2 separate regions of the Homo sapiens genome follow, and region 2 is linked to region 1. Evidence: promoter capture Hi-C in 16 types of primary human blood cells and fetal thymus (Javierre and others, 2016). All regions are on one chromosome and are shown on one strand. Each heading gives the region's core, a stretch centred on a gene start or on the middle of the fragment in contact. The rest is flanking DNA. Distances are from core to core; before and after follow the strand shown.

Region 1 (5,997 bases), core at 1,169-3,668:
ACACACAGAGTTGTGTTCTGGAGGGGTGAGTGCAGAGCTGTGTTCCAGAGGGGTGTTCCCACACATGGAGTTGTGTTCCGGAGGGGTGTGTTTTCCCACACACAGAGTTGTGCTCTGGAAGGGAGTGTGCTCCCACACATGGAGTTGTGTTCTGGGGGGGTGTGTGCTCCATACACAGGGTTGTGCTATGCTTCCACAGCGCGGGCAGCATGCGTGTGGGTGTGTGGTGGTATAATTCATGGCGTGGGAGATCTCCCAGGAGTGTGGTCCTCCTGCTGTTCCTGGCAACTCTTGCATTTCCCATTGGGTCTCACCTTTATTTCATTCATTGGTTCACTTGTTTATTCAGCAACTGTCTGCAGAGTTCCTGCTCTGGGGGAGAAGCAGTGAGCCAGGGGTTGGGAATACCCGGGTGACAGGAGAAATGTGGTCCCTGCCGCTTCCTGCCTTTCAGAGAAGTCACACACCTCCCATGGCACTCGAAGGGGATACACACGGTGCTGTGAGCACAGGGAGACCCGGCACCACGCAGCCCCCCATCCCTCTTCAGGGAGACCTGGTACCACCCAGCCCCCCTATCCCTCTTCAGGGAGACCTGGTACCACCCAGCTTCCTCATTCCTCTTCTCTCTGCTTCTCCATTCTATTTCATTTCTTGACCAGAGAATCTCCCCCTCCCACTGTCTCTGTGGTTTCCAGAATGGAAAAAACGTAAATATCGCTATACAACGCCCGACCCCTGCCGCCCCAAAGAATCTCAGGAGGTCAAGACCCCTGGATCTCCTTGCACCTCTGCTGTGGATTCCATGCAAGGCTTCACAAACATGCTTTTATGTGCGTGTCCAGCAGCAGAAGCCATGTGAGTGTGCAGGAGACAGGGAGCCCTTTCGAGCCTCCATGGAAAGCCAGCTCGCTTGGGCTGTGCTGGAGGCAGTGCCCCTCTCTGCTGGCTGCAGTAAAGGCTGTGAGCAAAAGGAGGGAGGCTGAAGGCCAGTAAAATAGAATCATATTTACAGTGATACAAAGCCACGTGCCACACTTTCTACTCGGTGGTGGGAATGACAGCATAAGGGTTTAATGCCTACATACAGTTAGGATCAGGCTGGAATTTGGGTGTTTGGCTCCCCATGTTTTAACTCACATTCCTTTAATTGGGTCATAGTCCTGCCCTCGCTGTCATTTTTGCCAGCTGCATGGTTCCCTCTGAGCTGCAGAATCAGGTAGACCAGAAGACCCAGGTGATGCTGGTGTTTACCTTCTTAGCTGGGAATTAGTTGGCAGCGGCCGCATGGCTCTGACATTCATTTCAAATATAACCTGCAAGGAGCAAGGAAGAAACCGCAAGCAACACAACTTTTTCGCCCTCAAATTACATCCCAGCTGAGACCGCTGCCTGGGATTTTCTCAGCATCCTTCCTGCCCCTCAGTAGGACATGCTGAGCTGTTCTGAGCCATTTCACCTGTGTTGGGAGCTGTGGCGGGAAATCAGACGGAGCGGCGTCTTGTAGCTCATTTGCCTCACGGTGGCTCCTGCTGCCTTTCTCCTCTTCCCATGTGGCCAGTGGCCAGCCAGCCCCTGCTGTCAGCACTTCTGAGCTAAGATCTCTCTGACTCCACAGGAACTGGCAGTGGGAATCCAAAAGTCACCATGGTGACGACTCACTTAGGAGTGTGCTGTGTTTCCTGATCGCGCAGCAGCCGTGGGGGCAGGCGGGGCAGCTGCGCTTCCACCCACTCTGAAGTTCACCCAAAGCTGCCCACTGGCCGGTGTTCCTCCAGCGTGGGCCTCAGCCCGCAGCATTGGCGTCCCCTGGGAGCTGTTTAGAAATGCAAATGTCGGGTCCTGCGCAGTCTTGCTGCTCAGAGTCTGCATGTTCCCAGGGCCCAGGAGGCTGCTGCATGCCGTGAAGTGTGAGGAGCCGGGTTGGGGTGGCCCACCCTGTGCACAGAGCCGGGAGGTGCCGTGGCCTGCACTGCCCCACCCCGACCTTCTGGCAGAAAGTCCAGGCTTTCCCTGCTCTACGCCGACTCCCACCATAGTCTTATTGAGATCTCATATGAGGAACCAACTCCATTCACAGCTGAGGGGCTGAATCAAAGCACTGGGGGCAGCAGTGCGGGGTGGGTGAGACCCTGTCTGGAAAATGGGACAGCGTTAGGGAGGAGTGTGTCCATGCAAGGAAGGCTTAGAAATGCTCCCACACATGTTGGGGTCTCAAAGTTTCAGCAGTGGTCACTGCCTGAGAAGCTCCGGCCAGGTCAGAGGTGCCAGGGCACAGGTCAGGAAGCAGCTGAACCCCTGCCTGCTAGCCAAGCTCCGGTTCTCACCCACTGTGCCTGGGTCACACCGTCCTATCCGGATTCCACTGGTATTCACATTCCTGGGATGTGGCGGAGTTCCAGCTGGGATCCGGCTGCCCATCGCTGTGGCGGGAAGAGAGCTGCTGAACAGCATGCGAGACCCCTTTGCAGAGGGGCACTGCTGCGCTGCCAAGGCAAAGCCTGAACAGGAGGAGGAGACGAGGGTCACAGTGATAATACCCCTTGGAGGGCAAGCTGGGGTGGGCCGAGGAAGGGGCCGGGGCAGAGCTTGAGGAATCTGCTGAAGGAACAGCCTGTTCAGGCTGACTCAGGTCGGCCCACAACTCCCTTCACCACCCCAGGTCCTTTGAGGTACAGAGGAGGCAAAGGAGAGAGCAGCTTTGCAGCCTGCAAAAGGTCTCCTGGCCCAGGCTTGTCTAATTTGCAGCTCTAGGCTCCCGTTCACAGCCCCGCATGTCTCCATGCTGGTTAGGATGATGCTAGCCCTGTGATAAACACATCCCATCATTTCACTAGCTTCACGCTCTGGAAGTTTTATTTCTTACTCATGTCCCTGTCCAGTGCTGTTGCTCCTGGTACTAGGCAGCACTCCGCATAATGAATCAGGAGCCGAGGCTCGTCAGTGCTCCACGGGGTGACTCAGGGTGCAAGGCTTCTTGTGTCCAGTGGCTCCGTCATCTCTCTTTCACCTTATTGCTGGGCTGCATCTTTTTTTGTGCCATGAACCCCTTCCAGTGGCCTGATGGTCTCAGAATAAGATTTTTTAACACATTAAAGAAAACACAAGACAGCAAGGAATAGGATATGAAAATGTTTTGTACTGCCAGCAAAACACCAGTCCTGCTGAAGCTACTGTGCTTTTTTGCCTACACTCATAATTGATGGAAATACTAAATATGAGGTACAAATAATGCAGTTGTTTTCCCATTGGAGGTCACAGGCCCCTGAATCTAACCCTGGGTTTACAGCTGTAGCCAAGAGTCAGGGAGAAGAGTGTGGAGAAGGCACAGCCGCTTCCTTGTGTCTGTGCTGGGAAGGACACCGGTCCCTCCACGCCCCACTGGCCAGCACCAGTGACAGAGCCACATCTAGTGGGTGGGCCGTGAGAAAAGAAACACTTCAGCTGAATTAAATTTAAAAGCATGTAATTGAGCAATAAACAATTTGCGAATCAGGCAGCCTTCTAAGCCAGAGTAGACTCAGAGACTCAGGCGCAGCCGCATGATGGAAGAACGCACCCTGTGTGTTCACCCGGCGTTCTTCCCTCTATGCGATTGCACAGCGTTTTCCCCAGTGTGTATTTACCCGGCGTTCTCCACCCTGTGTGATCGCCCAGCGTTCTCCCCTGTGTGTGTTCCCCTGGCGTTCTCCCCTCTGTGCATCCACCAGGCGGTCGCCCTTCTGTGTGTTCCCGCGGCGTTCTCCCCATGTGTTCACGTGGCGTTCTCTCCCCTGTGTGTTCCCACGGCGGTCTCTTTACTCTGTGCGTTCCTCGGCATTCTTTCTCCTGTGTGCGTTCACCAGGGGTTCTCCTTTCTTTGTGCGTTCACATGGCATTCTCCACCCTGTGCGTTCGCTCGGCGTTCTCCCCTCTGTGCCTTCACCAGGTGTTCTCCCTTCTGTGTGTTCGCACTGCATTCTCCCTTCTGTGTGTTCACGTGGCGTTCTCTCCCCTGTGCGTTCAAACTGCGTTCTCTTTACTGTGTGCGTTTCCCCGGCGTTCTCCCCGCGTGTGCGAGTTCACGTGGCGTTCTTTCTTTGTGCGTTCACATGGCGTTTCCCCACTGTGCGTCCCTGTGACGTTCTTCCCCCTGTGTGTTCGCGCGGCGTTATTTCCCCTGTGTGCGTTCACGCGGCGTTCTCCCCGCTGTGTGTTCACACGGCGTTATTTCCCGTGTGTGCATTCACGCGGCGTTCTCCCCCCTGTGCTTTCACGCGGCGTTCTCCCTGCTGTGTGTTCACGCGTCGTTATTTCCCGCGTGTGTTAGGGCGGCGTTCTCCCCGCTGTCCGTTCAACTTACGTTCTTCTTGCTGAGCGTTCGCGTGCCGTTCTCCCCACTGCGTGCTCGCGCGGTTGTGTTTCCCGTGTGTGTTGGCGCAGCATTCTCCCCTCGTGCGTTCACTTGGCGTTCTGCTGCTTGTGCGTTCACCTGGCTTTCTCCTTTGTGCGTTCACCAGGCGTTTTCCCCCTTGTGCGTTCACCTGGCATTTTCCTCCCTCTGTGTTCTCCCGGCGTTCTCTCCCCTGCGCGTTCCCACGGCCTTCTCTTTACTGTGTGCTTTCCTCTGGCGTTCCTACCCCCTGTATGAGTTCACCTGGCGTTCTCCTTCCTTTGTGCGTTCACATGGCGTTTTCCCCGCTGTGCGTTCACCAGCGTTCTCCCCTCCCGCTGTACGTTCACCAGGCATTCTCCCCCTTGTGGGTCCGCGCGGTGTTCTCTCCCCGTGTGTGCTCACCAGGCGTTCTCCTCCCTTTGTGTTCACACGGAGCTCTCCCCTCTGTGTGTTCACCCGGGGTTCTCCCCTCTATGCGTTCACGCGGTGTTTTCCCCAGTGTGTGTTTACCCGGTGTTCTCCCCGCTGTGTGATCGCGCAGCGTTCTCCCCCGTGCGTGTTCCCCTGGCGTTCTCCCCTCTGTGCGTTCGCCGGGCATTCGCCCTTCTGTGTGTTCCCGCGGCGTTCTCCCTCGTGTGTTCACGTGGCGTTCTCTCTCCTGTGCGTTCCCACGGCGTTCTCGGTGTTCTCTTTACTGTGTGCGTTCCCCTGGCGTTCTCGGCCCTGTGTGCGTTCACTCAGCGTTCTCCTTTCTTTGTGCGTTCACATGGCTTTCTCCTACCTGTGCGGTTGTGCGGCGTTCTCCCTGTGCGTTCACCTGGCTTTCTCCTTTCTTTGCGCGTTCACCAGGCGTTTTCTCTTGTGCGTTCACCTGGCGTTCTCCTCCCTGTGTGATCTCCCGACGTTCTTCCTCCAGCCCCCACCGTGTGTTCAGGTTGCGTTCTCTCTCCTGTGCGTTCCCAAGGCATTCTCTTTACTCTTTGCGTTCCCCAGGCGTTCTCCCCGCTGTGTGCTTTCACGCTGCGTTCTCCCCTTTATGAGTTCGCGGGTTGTTCTCCCCACTGTGCGTTCAACGCGGCATTCTCCCCTCACTTTGCTTTCAAGTGGCGTTCTCCCTGCTGTGCGTTCGCGCAGTGTTCTTCCCCGTGTGCGTTCACGTCGCGTTCTCCACGCTGTGCGTTCGTGCGACGTTCTCCCACCTGTGTGTTTGCTCGGCGTTATTTCCCGTGTGCTTTAGCGCGGCATTTTCCCCCTGTGCGTTCACCTGGCCTTCTCCCTCCCGTGCATTCACCAGGCGTTCTCCCCGCTGAGCGTTCGCGCGCCGTTTCCCTCCTGTGCCTTCACCCGGAATTCTCTACCCTGTGCGTTCGCGTGGGCGTTCTCCCCCGTGTGTGTTCACCCGGCATTCTCCCTTCTGTGTGTTCGTGCGGCGTCTCCCCCGTGTGTTCACGTGGCGTTCTCTTCCCCGTGCGTTCACCGGCGTTCACCGGCGTTCTCCAACCCCGTGCATTCAGCAGGCGTTCTCCTCTCCGTGCGTTGACCTGGAGTTCTCCCGCATTGTGTTCACGCGGAGTTCTCTCCTCAGTGTGTTCTCCTGGCGTTCTCCCCCGGTGTGTTCCCGT
Region 2 (5,966 bases), core at 2,050-4,549, 88 kb before region 1:
TCTTCTACTTCTGCCACCCCTGAGACAGCAAAGCCAACCCCCGCTTCTCAGCCTATTCAAGGTGAAAATTATGAGGACGGAGACATTTATGATGATTCACTTACACTTAATGGAGAGTAAATATATTTTCTCCTCATGATTTCCTTAAAACGTTTTCTTTAGCTTACTTTATTATAAGAATACAGTATATAACATATGTAACATACAAAATTGTCGAGTGCGGTGGCTCACATCTGTAATCCCAACACTTTGGGAGGCTGAGGCAGACGGATCACTTGAGACCAGGGGTTTGAGACCAGCCTGGCCAACATGGCGAAACCCCGTCTCTATTAAAAAGATAAAAATTAGCCAGACATGATGGTGCGTGCCTGTAATCGCACCTACTCGGGAGGCTGAGGCAGGAGAATCTCTTGAACCCAGGAGGCGGAGGTTGCAGTGAGCCGAGATTGCACCACTGCACTCCTTGCCTGGGTGACAGAGCAAGACTCCATCTCAAAAAAAAAAAAGTGTTAATTGTTTATGTTGTTGGTAAGACTTCCGATCAACAGTAGGCTGTTACTACAGTTTTGGGGGATGGAATTTTGACTGTGAGGGTCTGTGCCCCTAACCTCATGTTGCTTAAGGGTCAACTGTACATAGATATGTTACATACACACACATACTTCCTCCCTCTCTGTAATTTGGATCCTATGCCTATTATCTTTTAGTTTACTAACTTGACTTAAGAAGTCCTGATCATTTTTTGATGTTCATGCATACCGTATAGATCCTACCTCATTTGACTCCTACAAAATATTTGTTAAGGGTGTTCTAAAAGTTACTTTTTGTAGTTAAACTACACTTTATTTACATTTGTTTGTTATGGAAATAATGCATAATAATCGTTAAAAATCCAAACAAAAGGGGGGAACATATTAAAAGAAAAGTAAGGGTCTCCCTGCTACTCTACCTACCTACCCACCTACCTTATCTGTTACCATATCCTAGACCCAACTGCAATTAACAATTTCTGGTTTTAGTTCTTCTGGTTCTTTTCATTATAACCTTAAATACTGTACATATACATCTTGACTCACCAGCTGAAAATCCTTCAAAGGGACAAAAACTTATTCTTAACTCCTAATTTAAAAAATTGTATTACTTTTAGTTTTGCTAGAAGCTTTCATGACTTTAGGTTGTTTACCTAAATCATTATTTATAAATTTTACACACTGTATATTGGCTCCCTACTAGGAGAGGTGAGGAATTGGTACATTCTTACTTTCTCGTCTTTTCCCCTCCCCCTCCTAATTTTGTTAGTTTCATTCTCATTTTTAGTCTGTCAAGAATTTGCATTCTTTTTGTAAATAAAATTACAGACATCCCTTGGTATCCATGGGGGATTGGTTCCAGGACCTCTCGTATACACCAAAATCCACATACACTCAAATCCCACAGTTGGCCCTGTGGAACCTGTGGATATGACCATTCGCATCCCAAGAATACTGTATTTTCCACCTATTCTTGGTTTCAGTTGTGGAACCCACTGATATGGAGGGCCAACTGTATATATTGAAAACAATTTGCATATAAGTAGACCCACACTGGTTCAGACCCCTGTTGTTCAGGGTCAGCTCTATATCTTTCCAACTTTGTGCATTGATTGAAAAACCAACAACAGTATGATATTAGGGCTATAACAGATCTGTTAGGCCAAGCCCACATGCCCCTGAACAGAACATTCTGCACATTGGGCCAACTTCCAACTGCCGGCACCTGAAGTTATTTGCATTATCAGCTATCTTTGTCCACCAGAGCCTGCTCTGCCTGCATTTTGGGAAGACCTAAAGTGCCAAGGAATTAACACACCCTGCAAGTATGCTCAATTGAAGGCAATGAATAGAAAAAGACCCCTGACTCCTTCACCCCTGGATTTCAGGGAGGTAAATCCAAGATGTATGCTAAGGAGGTGACACTTAATGTCAGACACACACACCTGTTATGAGAGTTTCCTGATTGAATAAGAAAGAGGCATTCCAGGCAGAAGTACCCGAACATACAAGAGTGCAAGACCAAGAGGCTAAGGCAGATTGCTCTGTGCAAGAAGTGGCAGGTAGTGTGGCGTGGCTGGAGATGAAGAAATGACTGGATTGGGAAGGACTTTATCCACCAATCTAATGAATTTGACTTTCATCTTGAAGGTGTGAAATAGCGTGCTAAACAAGTTTAAAAGCAAAATGTCATTAGCCTATTTGTATTTAGAAAGAGCACTCCAGAAGCAAGGAGGGGATGGGTGAATTGGATGTACTGACACTGGAACAAGGAAATTATTCCAATAGTCCAGGAAAGAAGAAGGACATCAACTAAAATTGCACAAGTGAACATGGAAAAAAGAGGATGCGTCTGAGAAATATAAATATTGGCCGGGGCGGTGGCTCACACCTGTAATCCCAACACTTCGGGAGGGTGAGGTGGGCAGATTGCTTGAACTCAGGAGTTCAAAACCAGCCTGGGTAACATGGCAAAACCCCTCTCTACACAAAATACAAAAATTAGCCAAGCGTGATGGCATGGCCTGTAGTCCCAGTTACTCAGGAGGCTGAGGTGGGAGGATCACTTGAGCCTGGGAGGTTGAGGCTGCAGTGAGCCATGATCTCGCCACTGCACTCCCACCTGGGAGATAGAGTGGGACCCTGTCTAAAAAAAAAAACAAAGAAATATAAATATTGTATTAGGGTTTACCAAAGAAACAGAACCAATACGATATATGTATGTATACGGGTATATATATAAGGAGATTCATATAAGGAACTGACTCACAAGATCACTGAGGCTGGCAAGTCTACAGGATGAGCCAGCAAGCTGGAGACCCAGGAGAACTGATGGCATAGTTCCTGACCAGAGGCTAGCAGGCTTGAAATCCAGGAAGAGTCAGTGTTTCAATCTGAGTCTGAAGGCAAGAAACAAGCTGATGTCCCAGTCAAAAGATCAGAAGGCAGGAGAGATTCTTTCTTACTCAGGGAGGATCAGTTTTTTTGTTTTATTCAGGCTTCTAACTGATTGGATGAGACTCACTCATATGTTAGGGAGGTCAATTTGCTTTACTCAGGCTATCCATTTAAATGTTAATCTCATCCCAAAACACCCTCATACACACACCCAGGATAATGTTTCAGCAAGTATCTGGGCACTCTATGGCCCAGTCAAGTTGACACATAAAATTAATCACAAATATGTTCCAGTAACTTAGTTTTTAAACAACTAGATTCTTATGAGAATAAACTCAGGATAGGATAGGGGAAATGCTTTCTGGCTTTCCACTTGCATATTCTTGGAATGTCACTTTTTCTTAAATGTTAAAAATTGAAGGCCAGGCATGGTGGCTCATGCCTGTAATCCCAGCACTTTGGGAGGCTGAGGTGGGTGGATCACGATGTCAGGAGTTCCAGACCAGCCTGACCATCATGGTGAAACCCCATCTTTACTAAAAATACAAAAAAATAGCTGGGAGTGGTGGCGCGTGCCTATAATCCCAACTACTCAGGAGGCTGAGGCAGGAGAATCACTTGAAACCTGGGAGACGGAGGTTGCAGTGAGCCAAGATCACGCCACCGCACTGCAGCCTGGGCAACAAGAATGAGACTCCATCTCAAAAAAAAAAAAAAAAAATGAAAATGTGTCGTTAATCATCGAGATAGTCTTTCAGTCTGCACTCAGTAATATTAATGCCTTCTCATTGAAGTCATCTATTCTGTTCCCATAAAGATCAGGATAGTTTAGGTAGTGGTGAATAAATAAGGTTCTCAATGGCCTATTAGTTTTTTTAAATGTTCAAAAGATAGTAGCATGTTGGGAAAAGAGATGAATTCCACATTTCTTTTGGTACAGTACAACTTACTGAAATTGCTTTCTTATTTCAACAAGGATTTACCAGGTTGTGTGTAGTGGTTAAAAGCATGGACTTTACAGCCACATTACATGGGTTCAAATCCACTTACTAGTTATGTTAACCACAGGAAGTTAGCTAATGTCTCTCTGCCTCAGTTTTCTGTTTGTAAATTAGGATAAAAATCTCCGTAGATGTGAATATGTATAGCTAGATAGTAGATTGTATTCAAAATCCCAATCATAACATAATAAAAATATTAACTATTATTAGTTGTTTTGAATATACAACCTAATTTCATTTTCTCCATGATCTGAGCATGTTGAGTTATTTTTAAACAACTCCATTTTACAGATGAGACAGTGTTCCAATAAGCTAGGTAGTATGCCCACAGACACACAGCTAGCAGCTGAGATGAACCACCCAAGTCTATTTGGTTTTCAGCTCATGTTCTTTTCATGATATTTTGCTTTCTCTCAATATTTATAGAATTTAATTTAATTGACTAGAATTAAACTAAGAGAAAATGATTGAATGAAGAGATGCAGAAGGCAAGAGATAGCAAAGGTCATTCTGGGCTGGGCATGGTGGCTCACACCTGTAATCCCAGCACTTTGGGAGGCCTAGGCGGGTGGATCATCTGAGGTCGGGAGTTCAAGACCACCCTGGCCAACATGGTGAAACACCCCCGTCTGCTAAAAATACAAAAATTAGCTGGGTGTGGTGGCAGGCGCCTGTAATTGCAGCTACTCGGGAAGCTGAGGCAGGAGAATCGCTTGAACTGGGGAGGTGGAAGTTGCAGTGAGCCGAGATGTGCCATTGCACTCCAGCCTGGGCAGTAAGAGCGAAACTCCGTCTCAAAGCAAAAAAAAGAAAAGCTACCTTTACCAAAGACAGTTAAAATGATGGCCACCAAGGGGCAGTGTGCAGCAGGCAGAGAAGGTGGCTTTTTAAATTATTTTTCACTGCCTGCTGAGACAAAGATGTTACACCAGAATATGCCACCCTAACATATGCTTCTTTGGCATAAGGATTATTTTGAGCTGAAGACGATTGAGAAGAAACAAATAAAAGAAAAACTCTGCCTTCCCTTTCTTTGCCTAAAGGCAGGACATGCTAGTTAATGATCAACCCCTGACCTAATCGGTTATGTTACCTATAGATTACAGACATTTTATAGAAAAAGAAAAACACGGTGAAAATCCCTGTCCTGTTCTGTTCCATTGTAATTACCAGTGCATGCAGCCCCCAATCACATACCCACTGCTTGCTCAATCGATCATGACACTCTCATGTGGACCCCCTTAGAGTTGTAAGCCCTTAAGAGGGAAAGGAATTGCTCACTTGGGGAGCTCGGTTTTTGGAGACGTGAGTCTGCTGATGCTCCCAGCTGAATAAAGCCCTTCCTTCTACAACTCGGTGTCTGAGGGGTTTTGTCTGTGGCTACAAACCTGTCTTTGGCCAGTCTAATTTACAGGACCTCAGCCAGAGAACTAAGATGGGTAGAGGCAATACAGGAGATAGAAATAATTTAGGTAGGTAGATAGGGTGAAAGAGTCCCTGACAAAAGCTTTTCTTCTGACAAAAAACAGCTCAGAAATTACTTCCATTCTAACCACAGGCAGTCCAAATAAATCACTTCTCTTTTAACAAAGAGCAGCCTGGAAGATTGGACTGTATAATGTAGATAAGCATCTCCGGCACAGAGGGAGAGTTTCTTGGGTAGTCACCAAACTTACATAAATGGGTCCCAGTAAAAACAGTAGGCTTTAATGAGCACATTCCTTTCCCCTTTTTTGGACAGGGACACACTAAGGTTAGCTAGAAGCTTGCATGGTGGGGTGGGGGAAATGCCTGCAGCTGCAAGGAGGTACCCAGGACAAGGCATGGAAACTCCCCCTATTCTTGTTAGCACATGCAAGGTGGAAGGAGAAAGGCAGTGTGGAGTCGCCCAAGCTAAGAGCCTGCCTGCATGATAAAAGAATGGGGTAGGGGCTGCCAGAGATTCCACTCTATACAGATGACACACCTGGTCCTAACCAGGTTTTCATGCCCTATGTAGATAAGATACCCGCTCCCTACTAGCTCGTTGATAAAAACC

What was found. Contacts are between HindIII fragments. The CHiCAGO score rates a contact against its expected background, and 5 or more counts as called.
Region 2: a fragment that was not itself captured here is called in contact with the fragment with the promoter of RPS6KA2-AS1 in region 1 in 1 of 17 cell types (naive CD4 T cells); the score reaches 5.2 in naive CD4 T cells.

Annotation. Positions count from the first base shown.
Region 1 is chr6:166,900,119-166,906,115 of GRCh38, reverse strand. It overlaps RPS6KA2-AS1 (RPS6KA2 antisense RNA 1), which reads right to left and starts at 2,418. Exons shown (of 2, transcript NR_046644.1): 1 at 2,328-2,418; 2 at 1,047-1,816. RefSeq lists enhancers at 1,301-1,981, 1,982-2,663, 3,834-4,333. The HindIII fragment of the contact is 22,454 bases long and covers 1-5,997 here.
Region 2 is chr6:166,988,649-166,994,614 of GRCh38, reverse strand. No RefSeq gene overlaps it. Among named protein-coding and RNA genes, the nearest start is that of MIR3939, 6.3 kb to the left of the region's middle. The HindIII fragment of the contact is 4,276 bases long and covers 1,162-5,437 here.